Regions from separate parts of the Homo sapiens genome. Here all the other regions are linked to region 1. Evidence: promoter capture Hi-C in human tissues and cell types (Jung and others, 2019). All regions are on one chromosome and are shown on one strand. Each heading gives the region's core, a stretch centred on a gene start or on the middle of the fragment in contact. The rest is flanking DNA. Distances are from core to core; before and after follow the strand shown.

What was found. Contacts are between HindIII fragments. The study calls those that stand out against the background at their distance.
Region 2: a fragment that was not itself captured here is called in contact with the fragment with the promoter of HSD17B2 in region 1 in 2 of the 25 tissues and cell types used here (bladder and spleen).
Region 3: a fragment that was not itself captured here is called in contact with the fragment with the promoter of HSD17B2 in region 1 in 2 of the 25 tissues and cell types used here (mesendoderm cells and thymus).
Region 4: a contact is called between a fragment that was not itself captured here and the fragment with the promoter of HSD17B2 in region 1, in 3 of the 25 tissues and cell types used here (liver, ovary and thymus).
Region 5: a contact is called between a fragment that was not itself captured here and the fragment with the promoter of HSD17B2 in region 1, in 3 of the 25 tissues and cell types used here (adrenal gland, neural progenitor cells and spleen).

Annotation. Positions count from the first base shown.
Region 1 is chr16:82,032,504-82,037,186 of GRCh38, forward strand. It overlaps HSD17B2 (hydroxysteroid 17-beta dehydrogenase 2), which reads left to right and starts at 2,750. Exons shown (of 5, transcript NM_002153.3): 1 at 2,750-3,186. The coding sequence starts at 2,922. The HindIII fragment of the contact is 4,836 bases long and covers 1-4,457 here.
Region 2 is chr16:82,152,310-82,156,319 of GRCh38, forward strand. The region is part of intron 2 of MPHOSPH6 (M-phase phosphoprotein 6); the gene reads right to left. Among named protein-coding and RNA genes, the nearest start is that of MPHOSPH6, 16 kb to the right of the region's middle. RefSeq lists an enhancer at 275-569. The HindIII fragment of the contact is 4,298 bases long and covers 144-4,010 here.
Region 3 is chr16:82,104,779-82,109,044 of GRCh38, forward strand. No RefSeq gene overlaps it. Among named protein-coding and RNA genes, the nearest start is that of HSD17B2-AS1, 40 kb to the left of the region's middle. The HindIII fragment of the contact is 4,940 bases long and covers 1-3,919 here.
Region 4 is chr16:81,968,550-81,972,600 of GRCh38, forward strand. No RefSeq gene overlaps it. Among named protein-coding and RNA genes, the nearest start is that of SDR42E1, 41 kb to the right of the region's middle. The HindIII fragment of the contact is 3,196 bases long and covers 628-3,823 here.
Region 5 is chr16:82,135,576-82,140,096 of GRCh38, forward strand. No RefSeq gene overlaps it. Among named protein-coding and RNA genes, the nearest start is that of MPHOSPH6, 32 kb to the right of the region's middle. RefSeq lists an enhancer at 3,855-4,442. The HindIII fragment of the contact is 3,486 bases long and covers 994-4,479 here.

The DNA of each region.
Region 1 (4,683 bases), core at 1,500-3,999:
AAAACGTTCTTAAACTGATCAAAGTAAATATATAATTGTGGATTGAGCTAAGCGCAACAAAGGCAATGAATAAAGCGTGCTGATAGGAGATACTCAGATTGGGTGACAGGAGGTGATGTTTAAGCAGATATCTGAAGGATGACAAAGGAAACAGCCGAGTGCTGAACTGAAAGAAGAAATAAATGAGTGAGGAGGTAGCTGTCAAGAACCTCTCTCTCTGCTCAGAGGAAAAAGGCTAAGAGGCAGTGGGTACTCTCAACAATGAGAAAAGTGCCTACCATCCATGAGTGCCTGTAAGTGCCAGGGACGATGCAAGAATGGTGTCATTCACTTTTCAAAACAGCCCTTGGAAGAAAGACTCCTCCTACCGCCAATTTACAGAAGAGGAAACTGAGGCTTAGGAAGGGCAGGTAACTTGCCCAGTGCCTCACAGCTAAGCCAGGATTCGAACTCAATTTAGAAGTCTGTGAGACCCGAAAGCTCATGTTCTTAATACTGTTCAGCCCCTTCACCATCAGGGCTCAGGGAGTATCCTTCATGGGACTTCTGTGTGGCCTGAGGGTGGCTTTTGCTCATAGATTTTACCCTCCCCTTGGGAGCCCCAGGACAGAGTAGGTCTGGGAACTCGCAAGGGCTGCCTCCAGGAGAAAAGCCACCTCTCTCAAGTGGGCGTGCACTTGGCAGGAAGCCTGCGCAGGTGTTTGGCTCAGCCCAAATGTGGGAGCCACTGACCAAATGCCAAGACTCTCAGCGAAGAGCCATAGCTAGTCCTGTCTCCCCACCTGGAAGCTGTTTTTCGAACGGAGCTAACTGCCAGGATGCTCTGGGCTGGTGAGGCCACAAGGATTGTGAGAGGTGCCCTGTGGCTCAGATGGCACCCAGGAAGGAATTGGGGTCTGTTGAGGGAGGGAGAGTTCAGGGCTAGCCAAAGGCAATTCCAGATCCCTGCCCCTAAGCTTCCTGGCCTGGAGCTGGTAACGTCTCCCTGACTCAAATGTCCATGTGGCTGGGAGGGCAGACAACAGTTGCCATCACTCCACGCAGACCCTCATAACTGCCTTGTTGTCCAACCCCACAGTCCCACAGCACAGTAATGGTTCACAAGACACTGCTTCCCACCCCTTCTCCCTTGGGTCTTGAGTTGGCTTTGAGCCCAGGTGGGCTCTGCCTCACCTCCCTTTACAGGGGATACGCTGCTGGGTCCCTTCCTTCCCGAGTCCTGCCTCCCCAACATCATCCACAAAAGGCATCCTCTCCCTTCCTCCTCCTGCCCCTCATTTAACTCCAGCACGTGTTTTGAGACAAGTCTATACTCCACTGGACACTTTGTTTTACACGACTTCCTCTTATTCTTCATTCTCCTCCTGTTTAAAAAACATGAATCACTAGCATTTATGAGGTTCCTTCTACTGTTCCAGGCAGGATATGATATTATTTTATAGCCAAAGGGATGAAGATCTAGGGAGGTGAAGTGACCCTCCCAAGACTATGTAATTAATAAGTAGTGGAGTTAAGATTAGATTTGAATAGAGGGAAACTGACCTCAAATAGAGAATGTTTCTCTCTAGCTATGCCAAAGTCCAGCCTTTATCACAACCTTGCCTCCCTCCAGCCAGGCATGTGGCCCACATGGGGCACGCCCTGAGCCCAGGTGCGGTGACCCCTCTCTGGCTTAGCACGGTTAGGTGGTGCTGTAGTTGCAGAGTGCTGGCTTTTAAGCCGCTTGTGAGTAAGGGATTTATTTTTTCCCAGCCTCAGTTTTTCTCTCTGTAAACTGACCATAATAATAACACCCACCTCAAACAGTTTTATAAGGTTGAAATGGGGTGAAAGTAGGAAAGATCTAGCACATAATGCACTAATTTTTTTTTTTTTTTTTGCCTAAAGCAGGCAGTGGAATAGAATGCTTAGGGGCATACAGCTCTGAGATCAGGCTGCAAGACTCCACTGCTGTGTGATCTTGACTAAGTCTCTTACCCTCTCTGTGTCCTGGTTTCCTCACCTGTAAAATTACTATAATACTAGAATCAACTTCATAAGGATATTGTATTCAAGGAGGATGAGAGGAGTCCCAGTGAATGGAGGCTGGCATAGAATAGGCTTACAATAAAGAGAAAGAACAAATAAGCAGCTATACACAGCCTCTGCCACAAAAAACTACCAATAGATATTAGCCGCTATTAGTTAATTGTCATTATTATCTCTCCCTGGCATGTTTCCACTCAGGCAAGACCAAAGCACTTTCCTCTACCAAGGAATATCTTCCTCTACTTTCATATCCCTCTCCATCCAACCCTTCAGCCTGCCTCAGTTGGGATTTGTAGGAGTCCTGAAGCTATGGACCAGATCAGAGGTGCCTTCCCTTCCAGAATCTATTTTCCAAACTTCATCGATTGCCTATATTTATATGCATGCATGCACACACACGCACACACACACACACACTCTCACTCACTCCCGAGTCAGAAAAAGGACTCAGCACCCAGACATACTGCAGGCTCTTGAAGAAGACAGTATTTTCCTGTGAGCTAGAGGATCTTCCTGTTATTCTCCATGCAGTTCAAATTCTGTCAATTATTATCCAGTTAGTCATCGCTCCAGAGGTGGACTGTCATTAAAAAAAAATAGAAGGTGTGTGTTTGTGGGTGAGTATGTGCATGTGTTGTGTATGCAGGGGGTGGGGAGGGGCGAGAGCGGTCAAATAGGAAGTGCCTTGGTATTTATGTTGAAGTGCACACTGGTTTAAATTACCCACTGGGAATATGATTATGCTTAATCTATGCTCAGTTGAAAGGGGCTGGGGCTGCTTTCTCCCCTCCCTTCTTGACTCTCTGTTCACAGAACTCAGGCTGCCTCCAGCCAGCCTTTGCCCGCTAGACTCACTGGCCCTGAGCACTTGAAGGTGCAGCAAGTCACTGAGAATGAGCACTTTCTTCTCGGACACAGCATGGATCTGCCTGGCTGTCCCCACAGTACTATGTGGGACAGTATTTTGCAAATACAAGAAGAGCTCAGGGCAGCTGTGGAGCTGGATGGTCTGCCTGGCAGGCCTCTGTGCAGTCTGCCTGCTCATCCTGTCCCCTTTTTGGGGCTTGATCCTCTTCTCGGTGTCATGCTTCCTCATGTATACTTACTTATCTGGCCAAGAATTGTTACCTGTGGATCAGAAGGCAGTCCTGGTGACAGGTAAGCAGACGGTGCTACAATTTTCACTGAGGGTATGATCTGAAACTTGCTTTGCCTTAGCAGGACTTTGTCAAATCTGGCTTAAAAATAAAATACTTGGCATGGAGTAAATGAAAGCCCTCACCCAAGTATTTTTCATGACACTGTTTTCGTTCCGTTTTTTCCAGGAGGTGCATTTGAAGGGGCTGGTAGTGGGAGGGAAGGAGAGGATGAAGTGCACCCAGACAATGATTTTGTTAAAATTTCCCAGGAATAAATATTAATAGGCAAAATGGCAATATTTCATGTGTTCTATTGTACCCAGGAATGTCCCATAGATTGTTTTTTAGGCTTAAATGGACTTTTGTTCTGACATCATTGTTTGGCCAGGTTCTCCACCTGGACTCTTCTTCCCTAGGTATGCAAGAACGCTTACAAGCCAAGTTCTACTTGTCCCTTGCTGTTTTGAAATATTGAAGGGATTCACTTACCTGGGCTGGAGACTTTGCAGTTTGCTTGGCTGCTGTCAAGAACCTTGTGTCCTGTCTGAACTGTTCCTCATTAGACCTCTAATGTTTCTTAATTGGACCAACTTGGCATCGTGTCCAACATTCAGTTGCCTGTTAGCTGAGCTGCCAGTTTTTCCCTTGTTTGTGTGTGTGTGTGTGTGTGTGTGTGTGTGTGTGTGTGTGTGTTTCCCCATTGCAAGTGTGAGGCCAAATTAAATTTCTTTGAGTTGTAAAATTTTTGCTTGGTTATGGAGTTTAAGCTTGGATAGGGCTGTAATTAGGATTATCCAGCGTTATCCTAACCCAGAAAGCCCTACCAAATAAAAAAAAAATCAGCTGTGGAATCATTTGGGGGAGATCATCACCCCTCTGACCATGATCCTCAGGGTGAAGGCAAGAATGGCATGGGGATGTGGTTGGGAGAAAATCTGGGGCTTGACAATTTGCAGAGAAACAGACTTTGTTTTTGGGTTAAAGTAAAATGCTTTCTTGAAACAAAATGCAAATTGGTGCTTGTTGGGGTTAGACAAGCCACAGAAAAGAAGCTTCTTTAAATTAATTTTTGAAAGTTTAGAGGGAGAAAATTCAGTCAATGGGATGTTTATCTGCAAGAATGTCTGATATCACCTGGAATCATGTATCTGGGAGTCTGGCTGGATTTTCCACTTTTTTATTAGAATTCTCAAATGGCTTATCGGTGAAATTTGTAAGAGAGTCTCAATTTTCCTGTTCTGTGTCCTGTTCTGTTATGAAACCTTAGGATGAGCTCAGGCAAACCACAGGGTAGCTGAGAAAATGGGAATCCCTTCTTGCTTGTTTATTTTGTCAACATTCTTTATCCTCTGCATTTCAAGATGCAGGTGTTAATTAATGCTCACAAAATATGCACCCAACTCAGTGAGCCCACATCAGCCACTGAAAGGTGCCGTGCATTTAGTGTTGAGTGAGGATGATTGAATCAATTAGGCAACTCAAGCTCAAGGACTAATCCCTGCATGAAATGCTTATG
Region 2 (4,010 bases), core at 1,043-3,542, 120 kb after region 1:
CTTATTACAAATCCAGGAGAAGTAGTGGGAAATCAGAGGCTTGAGCAGCTTTAACAGTGTTATCAGTCAGAGCTCTTAGCTATAAACACCAAAGGCTGACCCTGGATGACTTCAGCAGAGAAGGAATTTACTGTAAGAACACTGTAGGCTCTTCATTTCCAAGGGGGACTGGTTCCAGGACCCCTTGTAGATATCAAAATCTGTGACACAAAGAGCCAGCTGTACTGGGCATCTCAGAATCACCGGGAAGGCTGAAGGGGCAGAATTGGAAGACGGGCAGAAATAACGGTCGCTAGGTGGTTGCACCAGAACCAAAATCATGCTAGAGAATGACCCTAGGAAAACCACTGTTGCTGCTGACGGGGCTGAGCACGACACCACTGATGGCATTGGGGCAGGTTGCGTTCCCTGGACCAGGATGTTTCTGTCTGCAGCAGAATTTCTCTGCTGAGTCACCACCACATGACCGTAAATCCAAGGTGACATATCTATCTCCAGCCTGGCCATAAACCCTAAAGCATGGCAGGAAAGCAAACATGTGGCTTTTAAGGCTTGTTTGCCGGAGTAGGCTCTGATTCTCATAAAGATTCCCTTATGCAACAAACACTTATTAAACCAAACTGTGTGTATTAAATCAAACTGCGGAAACAGCCACCAGTAAAAGAGCCTCAGCTGGGCACAGTGGCGGATGCCTGTAGTCCCAGTTACTCAGGTGGCTGAGGCAGGAGAACTGCTCGCATCCCAGAAGTGGAAGTTGCAATGAGTCAAGATTGTGCCACTGCACTCCAGCCTGGGTGACAGTGTCAAACACTCACCTCCAAAAAAAAAGAAAAAAAAGGAGCCTCTGCTCTCCTGGAGGTTACAGTCTATAGAAAGAGGGGCCAAATAATGAATGAAACATGAAACATTTATATCACACAATGGATGAAAATAAAGCAGGTTATTCCATCCCTAGCTGTAGGGGAGTAATTGGTATGGAACTAGCTTTCCTGCACCATAATTATATAAAACAGGACAAAATATAAAATGACCATTTTCAGATAATGAACAAATCCAAGCATATGACTGTGATGCCTGAGAGAAGAAAATCAAATGAAGTAGACCCCATGAATGCGGAGCTTTCTGCCTGGAGGCAATTTCCAGATTGTGGAGCAGGGAGTGGGGGACTCACACAAAACCCTGTCTTGCTGAGCTTAAGAGACAAACTGTTTCATTGGGGCTTTAGTTGAAAAAAATAAAGGCACAAACTGAAGTTTGGGGTTATGGTGGTGGCTGGAATATCTGGGTGAGGATACCACTGAAAGGGAGCTACACTATGGAATTCAGGACCTGCATACTGGGTTCCCTTGAATCTTTGGCTGACCATGAAGCTGCACATGTGCAGGATGAGTCTTTAGACTTAGGGAAAAAGTAACTGCTGGAGAGATGATTTCTGGGAGAACACCTGCTGCATTAGCTTCCTGTGGCTGCTGTAACAAATTTAAGCTGACAAAATTGGTGGCTTAGAGCAACAGAATTTATGCTCCTACAGTTCTGTACAAAATCCAGATGTTAGTAGGCCTGGGATCCCTCCAGAAGCTTCCACGGTTACAAGGCCTTCTGTGTGTCAAATCTTCCTCACCTCTCCTCCTTATAAGGAAAAGTGATTACATTTAGGGCCCACCCAGATAATCCAGGATAATCTCTCATCTAAAGATCTGTAATTTACTCATATACCAGCAAGGTAAATTTTGCCACATAAGGTAACACTCACAGGTTTCAGAGATGAAAACCTAGATATTATCTGGGAGACCATTTTCCAGCCTACCATACCTGGGGAAAAAAAATTTACCCTGCAATTGCATGTTGAAGAAATAACAGAGCTTGCACAGAGCAAGGAAATGTTTGAGTTCTGCCTAGCCAGAGAGGAGAGAACAAGCTAAACACTCTGTGATATTTAGTAGAAAGGCCACACCTTAGGAGTAGAGACAATTTAGCTACAAAACACACCCTAACAAAATCAAGCTGATTGGCATGTAAGTCAACTGCCTAATGAAACAAAATTCAACACTCTATTAAGAAAAATAACAAAATCCAGGTAGTCAGCAATGTAATACATACAAATGTACAGCACACAATAAAAAATTCCTAGACATGCAAGGAAGCAAGAAAATGTAATCCCCTCATAGAAAGAAAGAAAACAACTGAAAATGAAATTAGTAGAAATGGACTTTAGAATAGTTACTGTAAATTTATTCAAGGATTTAAACGAAAACATGCATGCAATGAAGAAAGAAACAGAAAGCCTGAATTAAGAAATAGAGACTGCAAAAAAACACCAATAGAACTTATATAATTAAGGGAAAAAACAATTTAAAAAAATAAATTATATAACTGAAAAAAAAACTGCAGTGAAAAACTGGATCAGTCCTATATCTATCAAATAAATGGAATTCATTACTAAAAATCTTTTCACAGAGAAAGCTTCAGATCCAGATGGCTTCACTGGTGAATTTCACCAAGCATTTAAGGAAGAAATAATTTCAATTTTACACAAACCAAGAACTAAGAAGAGGAGGTAGGAACACTTTCCAACTCATTTTATGGCCAAAACCAAAGACATTACAATAACTCTACAGTCTAATATCTTTTTTAAATATAGATGTGAAAATCATCAATAAAATGTCAGCAAATTGAATTTAAAAATTTTAAATGTTACATATGAAGACCAAGTAGAGTGTATGTCAGAAATACAAGGCTGTTCTGATATTCAAAAGTCAATAGTTTTCAACACATTAACAAAATAAAAATCATGATCTTCTCATAAGAAATTATTTGACAAAATTCAACATCATTTATGATGAAAACCCTCAGCAAACTACGAAAATAAAGGAGTATCTCTGACCACTGATCAGGGGCATTGACGAAAACAGCACTTCATGTGTAATAGAGAGAAAGTAAATGCTTTCCCAACTGTGATCAGAAACAATTCAAGGACTACTCTTGTCGTTTCTATTCAATACTGTATTGGGTCCTTAGCCATGAAATAAATCAACAAGAGGAGATAAAATGTATAACTGTCTTTTTTTGCAGATGACATAATTATGCATGTAAACAATCTTAAGGAATCCACAAAAAAACTACTTGTCAGTGAGTCAATTTAGCATTACAGAATACGAAGTCAACGTACAACCTTCAATTTCTACACACCCCTCCACCCCATACATACACACAACAAATAAGTTTGAAAAAACTCTATTTATGATATATAAAACTATGACAGACTTAGAGATAAACAATGCAATAAGCAAAGAAAATTTTTTCAATAAATGTTAATAGGTGCAGTGGCTCATGCCTGTAATCCCAGCACTTTGGGAGGCCAAGGTGGGCAGATCACTTGAGGTCAGGAGTTCAAGATCAGCCTGGCCAACACGGAGAAACAGTGTCTCTACTAAAAATACAAAAATTAGCCGGGTGTGGTGGGGCAGCACCTGTAATCTCAGCTACTCAGGAGGCTGGGGCAGGAGAATCGCCTGAACCCGGGAGGTGGAGGTTGCGGTGAGCCAAGATTGCGCCACTGCACTCCAGCCTGGGTGACAGAGTGACACTCTGTCTCAAAAAAAAAAAAAAAGTTAATAGGATCACAGGTTATCTATGAAAGACATGTCCTTTGATTTCTACCTCATGCTGTACACAAAAAGTTAGAGGCAAACCATGGATAAAAATGTCAGCACTATAACTACAAAATTTCTAGAAGAAAACAGAAAATATCTTACCATCTTGGCATAGCCAATGATTCATTAGACGAGAGTCATAAGGAATTAACCATAAAAGAAAAAATTGATAAAATAGAAACTCATCAAAAGACAACATTAACAGGCTAGAAGAAAATATTCACTATATATATATGTGGCAAAGAACTTGTATTCAGAACATAAATAACTCCTACATGCACAGATGTATGTAAGTTTTGTCTCAAAAAAACCCTAGAAACACTGAGCTTGAGTTAATGATGTGCATGCTGCAATATT
Region 3 (4,266 bases), core at 200-2,699, 71 kb after region 1:
AGGTTCCCATCCCTCCCCTCTCTCTGGCTAGGACTCTGCCTCACCTGCTGGGATGAAGAGGGATGAGGCAATGTGCAAACAGGACTTGTGGGAACCCAAGGTGGCTCTCCTTATTTTCAGGTCAAAGAACTGCTCACCCTTCCCCAAAACCCCAGCATGCCAGATGCATTTTGTTTTTGTTTTTGTGGTTTCAGTCCTGGTTAATATTGCTCCAAATGTCACATTCTTGGTGGCAGATCAACAAGGCAGTATGTCATGGGCATTTTGGAGTCACCTGGTGTTATGGTCTGAATGCATGCCCCCTAAATCCATGTGTCAAAATCCTCACCCTCAATGGGATGATATTCAGAGGTGGGACCTTTGGGGGGTGATTAGGTTGTGAGGATGCAGTCCTTGTGATGAGGTTAGTGCTGTCACAAGAGGAGACAAGGGAGACAAGGGAGAGCTTGCTTTTCTCCCTTCACCATGTGAGGACACGACAAGAAGACGGCCGTCTGCAAACCAAGAAGTAGGTGCTCAACACACACCGGGTCTGCCGGCACCTTGATCTCGGACTTCCAGCCTCCAGAACTGTAAGAAACAAATGTTTGTCATTGAAGCCACCCGGTCTATGGTAATTTATTACAGAAGCACCAACTGAATAAGACACAAAGACTTGGGTTCAAATCTCGGGCTTACTGTTCAACAGCTGGGTGACCTTAAGTAAGCTGCTCAACTTCTCTGCATCTTAAGGTTTCGTTTTTGCTTTTTACTCTAAAAACAGGTGCAGTGGTAACGATAATCTCATAAAGTTGTTTGTGAGGATTAACTGTGATGATAATGCAAAGGGTTCAGCCAGTGCCTGGCATTTAATAAGGGCTCCATGAATGTGGTAGTAATCGTCATACTTTTCTTCTCTTGTATCTAAATGAAGACGAGATCAAGAGGTCACTTTGGTCTGTCCTTTCTAGCTTGAGGCCAGATAGTGAGAAGGTCAACATGGCTCTGAATTTGTACCCAGGACATCAGGAACAGCCTAATCCAAATGGGGCCTTTCACTGTTGGTTGGCTAATGCTTCTCCCTCCCACTAGGTCACAGGAGAATCGTTTATTAGGTTGGTGCAAAAGTAATTGTAGTTTTGGCCATTACATTTTTTTTTTTAAATGGCAAAACCACAATTGCTTTTTCACCAACCTAATATGAACAAACAATGAGGCTTATACCTCCTATTCCTCCTGATAAAAATCCCTACTGCCTGTTTTTTTCTTCTTTTATTTTAAGATAACAATCATTGATGACTTTCTACATGCCAGGGACTGTGTTGAGCAATTTCGCAGTCATCCCCCCTTATCCGTAGGGGGTATGTTCCAAGACCCCCAGTGAATGCCTGAAACAGGGGGTAGTACAGACCTATATATGCTTTTTCAAGTTTGAGGTGCAACAGCAAAACTAGCATAAGTTTCTTTTGCCTTCTTCACCATTTCACAAACAGAAGAGTTGTTCTTACTGTGGCTTTTAGCCACATCGGCGTACAATTTTTTTCTTTCCTTATGAAGTTGAGAACTTTCATTTTTTTTTTACACAAAGGAAGCACTTTACAGCTTCTCTGTGGCATGTCCAAATTGCCAGCCACACTACTCTTGCATGTTGGGGCCATTATTAATAAAATAAGGGTTGTTTGAACACAAGCTCTGCAATACAGCAAGTGTTGATCTGATCACCGAGATACCTCCTAAGTGACTAATGGGTGGGGAGCGCTGGCAGAGTGAAAACACTAGACAGAGGAATGAATCCCCCCTATGCAGGGCAGGGTGGAAGGGAGCAGGATGGAGTGAGATTTTATTATGCTCCTCAGAACAGAGTGCAATTTAAAACTTATACATTGTTTGTTTCTGGAATGTTCCATTTAATATTTTCAGACCATGGTAGACTTCAGATGCCTGAAACCAGTGAAAGTGAAACTGTGAATAACGGGGACAACTGTACTTGGATATACCAATCCAATCCTTATAATGATTCCATGAAGTAGGTGTATTCTCATCCCAATTTTTAGATAACATAACAGACTTACAAAGTTAACTTGTCCAAAGTCACACACCTAGGACATAGTGGAGTTGAGCAAAATTTTTAATCTGAACTTGTTCAACTTCAGTTTTTAAAAAGTAGCAATTACGCAGTGGTTCATTTCTTTTTGAAGCCAGTTTTCTGGGTTCAAGTCACAGTTCTGCCACTGATGAGCTATGAGATCTTGGGGATTTTACTTGATTTTTTCCTAGTGCCTTAGAACTGTCATTTGTAAAGTGGAGAGGATAATTTTTTTTTTTTTTTTTTTTTGAGATGGAGTCTTGCTCTGTAACCCAGGCTGGAGTGCAGTGGCACAATCTCGGCTCACTGCAGTCTTCTCCTTTCAGGTTCAAGCGATTCTCCCACCTCAGCCTCCCGAGTAGCTGGGATTACAGGTGCCTGCCACCACTCCCAGCTAATTTTTGTATTTTTAATAGAGATGGAGTTTCACCATTTTGGCCAGGGTGGTCTCGAAATCCTGACCTTAAGGGATCTGCCTGTCTCGGCCCCCCAAAGTGCTGGGATTACAGGTATAAGCCACCACACCCGGCTGAGAGGATGATGATGAATAGCAGCTGTCTCATGGAGCGGTTACAATATTAAATAAGTTAATCTATATTAAGTACTTAGAGCTTACTTGGCTCTAGAAGGCACACAATAAGTTGTTATTCATATGGCTAATTATAGGGTGCTATAGTAATGATGGAAGAAAAACCAAAACATGAGCAGAAAGCATTAGGAAAGATGTTGTGATGCGGAGAAGGCTTTGGACTATGTAAAGTTTTATTTAAGCTTACTTCTTTGAGCTGGGCTTGAAGCAATACATCATTTCCTTATACAATGGTGGTAAAGTTTCAGCAGGTCACTAAATGATTTTGAAAGGCAACATGATCTTTCTGATCAGTAGATAACTGGGTGGTCCAAGCAGGCACTGATCACACACGTGCATTTCTTTCTACAGGGTTGGCTCCCTAGCATGGAGGGCCTGGGAAGAGGTCCACAGTGCAAGCCTGTGTAGGCCACATCCTCAGGCCCCTCTCCTCCACTGGACCCCAGGCCAGGAAGGGAAAACTCATGACTTTCATGCTACCTCCCTCCTCTTTCCACAAGGTCAAGAAATAATTTTCAGAAAATGTTAAAATCTCATACAAACATACAATGAGCAGACATCAAAGTTTTATTTAACTCATTAATGAGATAACCAGCAGGATGGCAAAGCTGGTCTCAGAGAGGAGACGAGAAGCTGTTATATAAATAGAGTGTCCTTTAAAAAATGATGGTAGAATTAGATTGCTAAATCAGATATAAAACTAAAGAACAGATTACGGTTCTATGGAGCAATGTACTTATCATCTGGGTCTAGGCTCTATCCTGGTCAGAAATTATTTGCATCTCTATGGGATAAAAGTAACAGGCACTCCATCACCCTCAGCAAACTGACAAAGGACCAGATAACGAAACACCACATGTTCTCACTTATGAGTGGGAGCTGAACAATGAGAACACATGGACACAGGGAGGTAATGACACACACTGGGGCCTGCTGGGAGGCAGGGTTGTGGGAGAGAGAGGATTAGGAAAAATAGTTAATCCATGCTGGGCTTAATACCTAGGTGATGGGTTGATAGGTTCAGCAAACCACCATGGCACACTTTTACCTGTGTAACAAACCCACACATCCTGCACATGTACCCTGGAACTTAAATATAAAAATTAAAAAAATTGAAAAGTAATTGGCACTCTTATTAGTTTCTCCAAGTTAACATCTACCTTTACAGAACTGGGCCAATATATAAGTTGCACAGCAAGCAAAGTCACATTTTCTCAGAGAGTCAGGTTGTCCTTACGTGGGCTTTTAGACAATGTTCTGGCATTGTTTACACGATACTAAAAACATTACACATGTATTTTTTGCCTTGGTTCCAAATTTTGGTTAATTTTTTCATAACAATTACCAGGGTAGAGATTGCTAAGTGACCAGGAAACTCTTTTCCACCAAGCCTAGATATGGCCTCCGACTCTTTCAGCATCGTGCCCACCCAGCCACCAGCAGTTGATGACAACTTGTGTGAGAAAGGAAACTGATTTGCCATCCAGCTCTTGATGACAACAGGGTTTAGATGTTCCAGGCAGCTTCTTTCACGGCTGGCCGAGGCTATTTCTGATGACTCGCTCAGAGCTCCAACTTAGCCACCAGGAGAGACCAAGAGAAGCATCAGTTC
Region 4 (4,051 bases), core at 976-3,475, 64 kb before region 1:
CCAACACCATTTTTTGAAGAGACTATTCTTTCCCCACTGTGTATTCTTGGAAGCTTTGTCAAAGATCGGTTGATCTTAGGTGCATAGGGTTATTTCTGGGCTCTCTATTCTGTTCCATTGATCTATATGTCTGTCTTTTGCCAGTACCATAATATTTTATTACTGTAGTTTTGAAGTGTGTTTTGAAATTAGGAAGTATGAGACCTCAACCTTTGTTCTCTTTCAAGATTGTTTTGGCTATTTGGGATCATTTGTGGTTCTATATGAATTTTAGGATTGTGTTTTCTATTTCTGTAAAAAATGCCATTAGGATTTTGGTAGGAATGACATTGAATCTGTAGATCACTTTGGGTAATATGGACATTTTAACAATATTAAGTTTTCCAGTTCATGAACATAGGATGTCTTTCCATTATTTGTGTTTTAAATTTCTTTCAGCAATATTTTATAGTTTTCAGTGTACAAGTCTTTCATTTCCTTGGTTAAGTTTATTGCTAAGTGTTTTCTTTTTGACGCTGTTATAAATGCGATTGCTGTAATTTCCTTTCCAGATTGCTTGTAGTTGGTGTACAGAAACATAACTAATTTTAGTATGCTGACTTTGAATCCTGTAACTTTACTGAATTTATTAGTTCTAACAGTTTTTTTCCCCTTTGGTGGAATCTATAGGATTTTCTACACCTAAAATCATGTTATCTGTGAACAAAGATAATTTTTCTTCCTCCTTTCCAGTTTGCGTGCCTTTTATTTCTTTTTCTTGTCTACTTGCTCTGGCTAGAACCTTCACTAGTATGCTGAATAGAAGTGGTGAGAGTGAGCATCCTCACCTCTTTCCTGATCTTAGACGAAAAGTTTGTTTTTTACCTTTGAATATGTTAACTGTCGTGTTTTCATATATGGGCCTTTATTATGTTGAGGTAATTTCCTTGTTATTCCTAGTGATATGATTTGGATAGTCATCCCTTCCAGATCTCATATTGAAATGTGATTCCCAGTGTTGGAGGTAGGGACTAGTGGGAGATGTTTGGGTCATGGGGGCAGATCCCTCATGAATGGCTTGGTGCCCTCCCTACAGTAATGAGTGAGTTCTCACTCTTAGTTCATTTAAGAGCTGGTTGTTGAGAAGAGCCTGGCATTTCTCTTGTTACCTCCCTTGCCATATGACACACTGGCTGCCCTTCTCTTCCACCATGACTAAAAGCTTCATGAGGCCTTACCAGAAGCATATGCTGGCACCATGCTTCACAGTCCACAGAACTGAAAGCCAAAATAAATTATCCAATCTCAAGTATTTCTTTATAGCAACACAAAATGGACTAATACACCTAGTTTCCTAAGTTTTTTTAATCACAAAAGGGTGTTGAATTTTGCCAAACGCAATTTGTTTCTATTGATATGATCATGTAATTTTTATCCTCTGTTCTGTTCCTGTGGTGTATCACATTTTTGATTTGCATATTTGTAATCATTCTTATGTCCTAGGGATACTCTCCAGTCTCTTATAAGTGACTAAATCCCACTTAGTCATCATGGTGTATGTCCTTTTAATGTGCTATTGAATGTGGTTTGCTTGTATTTTGTTAAGAATTTTGCATCTATATCTGGGATATTGGTCTGCATTATTTTTTTCTTGTAATGTCTGTTTTTGGCTTTGGCACTGGGGTAATGCTGGCCTCATAAAATGACTTCGGAAGTATTCGTTCCTCTTCTACTTTTTAAAAGTTCAGAAGCATTCGTCTTAATTGTTCTTTAAATGTTTAATAGAATTCATCAGCAAAATCTTCTGGTCCTGGGCCTTTTTTGAGATGTTTTTGATTACTGATTGAATCTCCTTACTAGCTAAAAGTCTGTTCAGATGTTCTATTTCTTTATGATTCAGTCTTAATTTTCTATTCTCTACTTTGATAACTTCTACCTTAATCTTTATTATTTCATTTCTTCTGCCATCTTTGGGCTTAGTCTGTTTGTTTCTCATTCCTTGAGGTATAGAAGTTAGGTTATTTGAGCTCTTCTTTTGGGAGGTAGGAATTTATCACCACAAATTTTCCTCTTCCTACTGCTTTTTTCTCCATGAGTTATGTTTTTGTTTTGTCTAAAGATATTTTATAATTTACCTTTTTATATCTTCTTTGACCCATTGGTTGTTCCAGAGTAGGTGTTATTTAATTTCCATATATTTATGAGTTTTCTGATTTTCCTTCTCCTACTGATTTTTAGTTTCATTTCACTGTAGTTGGAAATAAATTTGAGAATTCAATCTTCTTAAGTTTGTTAAGACTTGCTTTGTGATCTGTCCTGGAGAATATTTCTGTGTGCACTTGAGAAAATGTGTATTCTGCTACTGTTGGGTGGAATGTTCTGTATATGACTATTAGGTGCATTTGATTTATAGTATTTTTCAAGCCCTCTGTTTCCTTATTGATCCTGTGTCTAGATGTTCTATTCATTACTGAAATCTCCTACTATTATTGCGATGCTGTTTTTCCCTTCAGTTCTGCCGATGTTTGTTTCATATATTTAAGTGCTCTGATGTTTGGTACATACATATTTACAATTATTATATCTTCTTGGTGAACTGACCCATTAATCATTATCTGTCCTTCTTTGTCTCTTGTAGCAGCTTTTGACTTAAAGTCTATTTTGTTTAAGTATGGTCACCCCTCTTTTAGTAGCTTAGCGTATCTTTCTCCATCCTATCACTTTAAGTATATGTGTGTCATTAAACTTAAAGTCAGTCTCTTATATACAGCATCTAGTTGAATCTTGTTATCCTTCAGCTACTTTGTGTCTTTTGACTGGGCAGTTTAATACATTTACATTTAATTATTGATAGGAAAGGACTAACTATTGCCATTTTGTTAATAATTTTCTGTCTGTCTTGCAGCTCTTTTGTCCCTTTTCTTCTTTCACTGTCTTCCTTTGTTGATTTTTTGTAATTTTTGTAGCTAACATAGGGCTTACATGAAACATTTTATAGTTGTAACAATCTGTTTTAAGCTGATAACAACTGTAATCACATTGAAAAACTCTACAGTTTTACTCTTTCCTCCAAACTTTGTCAATTATGTCATAAATTTTATCTTTTTATATTGTGTATCCCTTACATATTTTCATAGTTTTTAAATACTTTTGGCTTTTAACATCTGTACCAGAATTAAAAGTGATGTATACACTAACAATATAGTATTCTGTGTTTAGCTATATACTTACCTTTACCAGCAAACTTTATACTTTCATATGCTTTTGTATGGCTGCTTAGAGTCTGTTTAAACTTCAAGAACTTTAGTATTTGTTGTTATTCAGGCCTAGCGGTGATGAACTTCTTCAAATTTTATCTGAAAAAGTCTTTATTTCTCCTTTGCTTTTAAAGGACAGTTTGCCAGATACAGTATTCTTGAACAACCTTTTCTCCCCCTCCTTTCAGCACTCCCAATATACTGTCCCATTCTTTTCTGGCCTGCAAGGTTTCTGCTGAGAAATTCACTGATTCTTATGGGAGTTCCCTTGTATGTAATTAGTCCCTTTTGTTGCTCTCAAAATTCTGACTTTTGACAACTGATGTCTCAATATGGACTTCTTTGAGTTTATTCCCTTTGGGTCCATTTTCTTTCAGAGATTTGACAAGTTTTTGGACATTATTTATTTAAAGAAGCTTTCTGTCTCTTTATCTCTTCTACTTTTGGAACTAACATAATGAGTATTTTGGTCTGCTTATGGTGTCCTATAAGTCTGTGAGGCTTTTTTCTCTTCCTCTTCCTTCCTTCTGTTCTTCCTTCCTTCTCCTTCCCTCATCTTCCTCTTCCTCTCCTTCCCCCTCCTCTTACCTCTCCCTTCTTCCCCCTCCCCCCACTTCTCTTCTTCTTCCTGTTTTTGCTCCTCTGGCTGGATAATTTCAATGATCTGTGTCTGGGCTTTCTGTTCCCAAAAGAGAAGGAACACACGAACACACACACACACACACACACACACACACACACACACACACACGTGAAAGCTTTCTGAGTCAGGGTCTTGCTCATGTCACCCTGGCTGGGGTGCAATGTTAGGGTCA
Region 5 (4,521 bases), core at 1,487-3,986, 100 kb after region 1:
GATATTTCATAGAATATGACTTAAATAAATACATGATGACATAGAGTTATATTCCAAGTGAGCTCCCACTAAATTATTGCTTTTCAAATTCTTTTTGGTTACCATTGGTTCACATGTACTATCTTTCTTAATATAGGATCACTAATATTGAGGAGATCCTATTTATAAAAACAATCACTTGTGTCTAAGATTGATTGTTAATGTCAATATAATGCATATCATCTGTAAAAAGGAAATTTGTAAGAAGGAAATATTAAAAAATACCTGCCAGAACAACAGGATTCTGAAAGATTCTGTTTGGAAAAAACAAACAAACGAACAAAAAAACGTTTTATGGGGCTAGGTTTTATACCTCTTTCCCAGTTATTTTCTTTTGCTTTCTTCACCACGTTGTGGCAGGCCAGGTTTCACTAACTCAGGCTTCCATAACAACGGTTTCAGCACTGACCGAGTGGTTCCATCAAATATTAACAGCTGAGAGAGTCAGTGCCCTTCTGCAAAGGCTGGAATGTCACAAAAGCCCATCAAGAGCTTTGCCTCGGCCTTTCCTGGGCCTTAAATCATGACAGGATAATGAAGGAATTCTTAACGGGACCCGTTTAGGAGTAAATAAGTTTTATTGGGGGGTCCAAAGAAACTCCCCAGGCCTCCACAAACAAGCCTTATTGGGTACTAAAGAAACTCCCCAAACCTCCATGATTTAGCAGGAGACAAGACAAAGGTATTGACCCCAGCACCTGGACCCATTTAGGTTAAGTAAATTTACTCAGGTTCCAGAGGAAGAGCTTCAAGACTCAGACCTTAGTTATAGATGAAAAGAAGTTAATCACTTATGTCTTTAGATGAATGCACAAATGCACACTTACATGTAGACATATAGCTTAGAAGGTATACAAGCTCTGGAAAACTTTGTAGTTTTGAGTTGGTCTGGGGATAATTTCAAGGCCTTCTCCCTGTAACTGGTTACAGAAATAAAAACTTGATTCTCTCCCAGTTCATCTGCATCTCGTTATTGGGCTGCGAGAATAAGTAGCCCGACCCTTGGCTTGGTCAGGAACAGCATGACATAAGAGACAGAGCACTGGCTTTGTAATCAGTTGATCTGGGTTCAAATCCTGATTCTATCACTTAAAAGCTGTGTGACATTGGGTGTACCAAATGTCTCTGTGCCTCTGTTTCTTCATGGGTAAAATCATGGTAATACTTTACATCCCCCCCCCATAATTCGGTGCCTGGCCCAGTGTCAAGACTCAGTATTTATTATTGAGTTGTTATTATCGTTACGGTGAATGACGTCGCAAATGTTCCTGGCATTTACAGACAGGTCTCCACTGCACGGTTGTCACAATGGTTACTCTTTTGGGGAGCTCCCATCGGAGCAGCTGCTTCCACCTTGCTTTATTTTCCTGCAGATAATGTCCTGTTCCCGTCATTATCTGCTAACTTCTTGACTGAATGCCTGATAGGAGCTCAGATAGCCAAGTGTGGCTTTGTGCCACACCCTCCTAACATAGCTCGTTTTCTGTTCCTATGGACTACAGAATGCGCTCTAGGGTTTGAACTGCAGACCTGTTCCTGCGTCATTCTCTATGTTTGACTTGTGGCCATCCTAGTGAGGTTAAATGAAGCTCTGAGGTGAAAGCAGGAAGGATTCGGTTCAGGGAGAGCGTTTGTTTGATACAGGTGTTATACATGATGAACTATCCATCAGGGACAGGGATCAGAGCAGAGGTCAGAGAAGAGTGGTGGAGGTGAGAACCTGCCATGATCGGGAGAGGAGGGAGGGATGTCACAGTAACATGCAGTCTGCTAATATTTGGCAGATTGTCATCTTCATGACCTCAATGGTCTTGTTAGTTCCTGCCGCAATTTTGCAGTTATGTAGGGTCACCCCTGCTCTCCCCATCCAGACAATGCTGATGAAAGAGATATTAGCAAGAGATACCATCCAGATCAAATATATCTTACAGAGATCAGTGCAACTTTGCATGAATGAGTCCAACTTTGCACGAAGTAAGAGTCCAGGACTCTTACTTCCTGAGTATCCTGAAACCCAGTGCATCTTTTCCCTGGGGAAAATGAAAACACAAAGCCATCCAAAAAAAACAAGCAAAATATATTGGAAGGAAACTCTGGTATATAACATTGAGCTGCTGGTTTGAAAAGCAGTGACCTCTCTGTGCAAATGATTTTTTTTTCCAAACAGAGCTGAACAAGGTAAGATTCTGGGTTAATGGCTTCCATAACGATTAAAATTAAAATGTAAACCATCTGTAGTAGGGCTTACAGCCCTGCAGGAACTTACAGAACCATCAAATAATTTTAATAAACTGCTTATGCAAGCCTATTTCTATGGGAGGTCAGACTCCAGTCTCTCTTTAAGAGGCTGCCAAGACACCCTGGACTCAGATGATAAGGCATCTGCGTGTTCTCTGAGGCCAAGACTGCGAAAATGTGTCTCAGCAGGCAAGGGGGGAAAACTGATACCTTTATAAAAGACATATTAAAAAGTGAGAGGTCTCTAGGGATTTTCTTGAAACTACCATTAAAGCTACATCATCTCTCTTTCCCCAGAAAGCCCACTTGGATTAAGCTCATCAACCAATGGGAATGTCAGTGATTGGATGGTTGTATGTCGGCGTGAAACAATGGTTATCTGTTAAACTGAATTTTATATCCGTGTGGTGTTCAGTTTTTTCCCTCAGGATCTGGGATAGTGAAAGTTCCCTTGATCTGTGGGCTTTGTCTTTGTGGTGCTAACTGCTGAAGTACTTGCCTCCAGAATAGGCACCTCTGCTGACGGCTAGAGCCACAAACATTCCTGATCCCACTGGTGGCGTTTTCCTATTAAGTTGGGTGCACATTTCCATACAGACACGATCAAACATTGCATGTTATGATTAGAAATAAAGCTGAGGACTGAGAAACTGAATATACAATGACCAGACCATATATAAAAACAGAATGTTGACCCGTCACCTGCAGCAACCTGCCCAAGAAACCAACCCCTATTTACAGTAAGCAACCCAGGAATCCAGCCTGCTATATAAACCACACTTGCAGGAAGCCAGATTGCTATCTTGGAAGGTAAATAATTTCTGTAACGATCGGCCCCAGATGGCCAGGACTTAATAACTGAAGCTTCCCTAATTTTGCCCTTGCTTTCAACTTAGGACCAACTAAAGAAAGTCAAACATGTACCTCTTACCTATCACACAGGGTGCCCTGCACGTAGTTAGCTTACCTCCAGCTTCTTCACGCCAACAGTCCAATCAGCACACCTGAGCCTTCTCTTCCGTGGGTCTTAAAGCTTTTGCATTCCTCTGCCTGCCTTTGAGTCTCTGCGCAAACGCTAGTGATGGTGGCCGACTCCTTTGCTATAGCAAGCTCAGAATCGATAGCCTTTGCTTTTCTCCTTTGGTCTTTGTTCAGTACTATAGTTTAAATAGACTTTGTGAGCCAGTTGGTTTCTAAATCATTCTAACTGCCATTCACTCACTTACTGAAGAAATATTTACTAAAAGCTTCAATATAGGCCATATTTCTTGCTAGACACAGGAGCAAATGAAATAAGATAGGGGCCCTCCCCTAGAGGACAGTAACTTGGCAACTAAAGGGATGAACGGGATGACTTGGCAACCAAGTCAAAGGGCATTAAAATACAGAGGCGGACTCAAACGAAGATGGCCGAATAGGAACAGCTCCGGTCTACAGCTCCCAGCGTGAGCAAAGCAGAAGACGGGTGATTTCTGCATTTCCATCTGAGGTACCAGGTTCATGTCACTAGGGAGTGCCAGGCAGTGGGCGCAGGTCAATGGGTGCGCGCACGGTGCGCGAGCCGAAGCAGGGCGAGGCATTGCCTCACTTGGGAAGCGCAAGGGGTCAGGGAGTTCCCTTTCTGAGTCAAAGAAAGGGGTGACGGACGCACCTGGAAAATCGGGTCACTCCCACCCGAATATTAACCTTTTCGGACCGGCTTAAAAAACGGCGCACCACGAGATTATATCACACACCTGGCTCGGAGGGTCCTACGCCCACGGAGTCTCGCTGATTGCTAGCACAGCAGTCTGAGATCAAACTGCAAGGCGGCAGCGAGGCTGGGGGAGGGGCGCCCGCCATTGCCCAGGCTTGCTTAGGTAAACAAAGCAGCCCGGAAGCTCGAACTGGGTGGAGCCCACCACAGCTCAAGGAGGCCTGCCTGCCTCTGTAGGCTCCACCTCTGGGGGCAGGGCACAGACAAACAAAAAGACAGCAGTAACCTCTGCAGACTTAAATGTCCCTGTCTGACAGCTTTGAAGAGAGCAGTGGTTCTCCCAGCACGCAGCTGGAGATCTGAGAACGGGCAGACTGCCTCCTCAAGTGGGTCCCTGACCCCTGACCCCCGAGCAGCCTAACTGGGAGGCACCCCCCAGCAGGGGCACACTGACACCTCACACGGCAGGGTATTCCAACAGACCTGCAGCTGAGGGTCCTGTCTGTTAGAAGGAAAACTAACAAACAGAAAGGACATCCACACCAAAA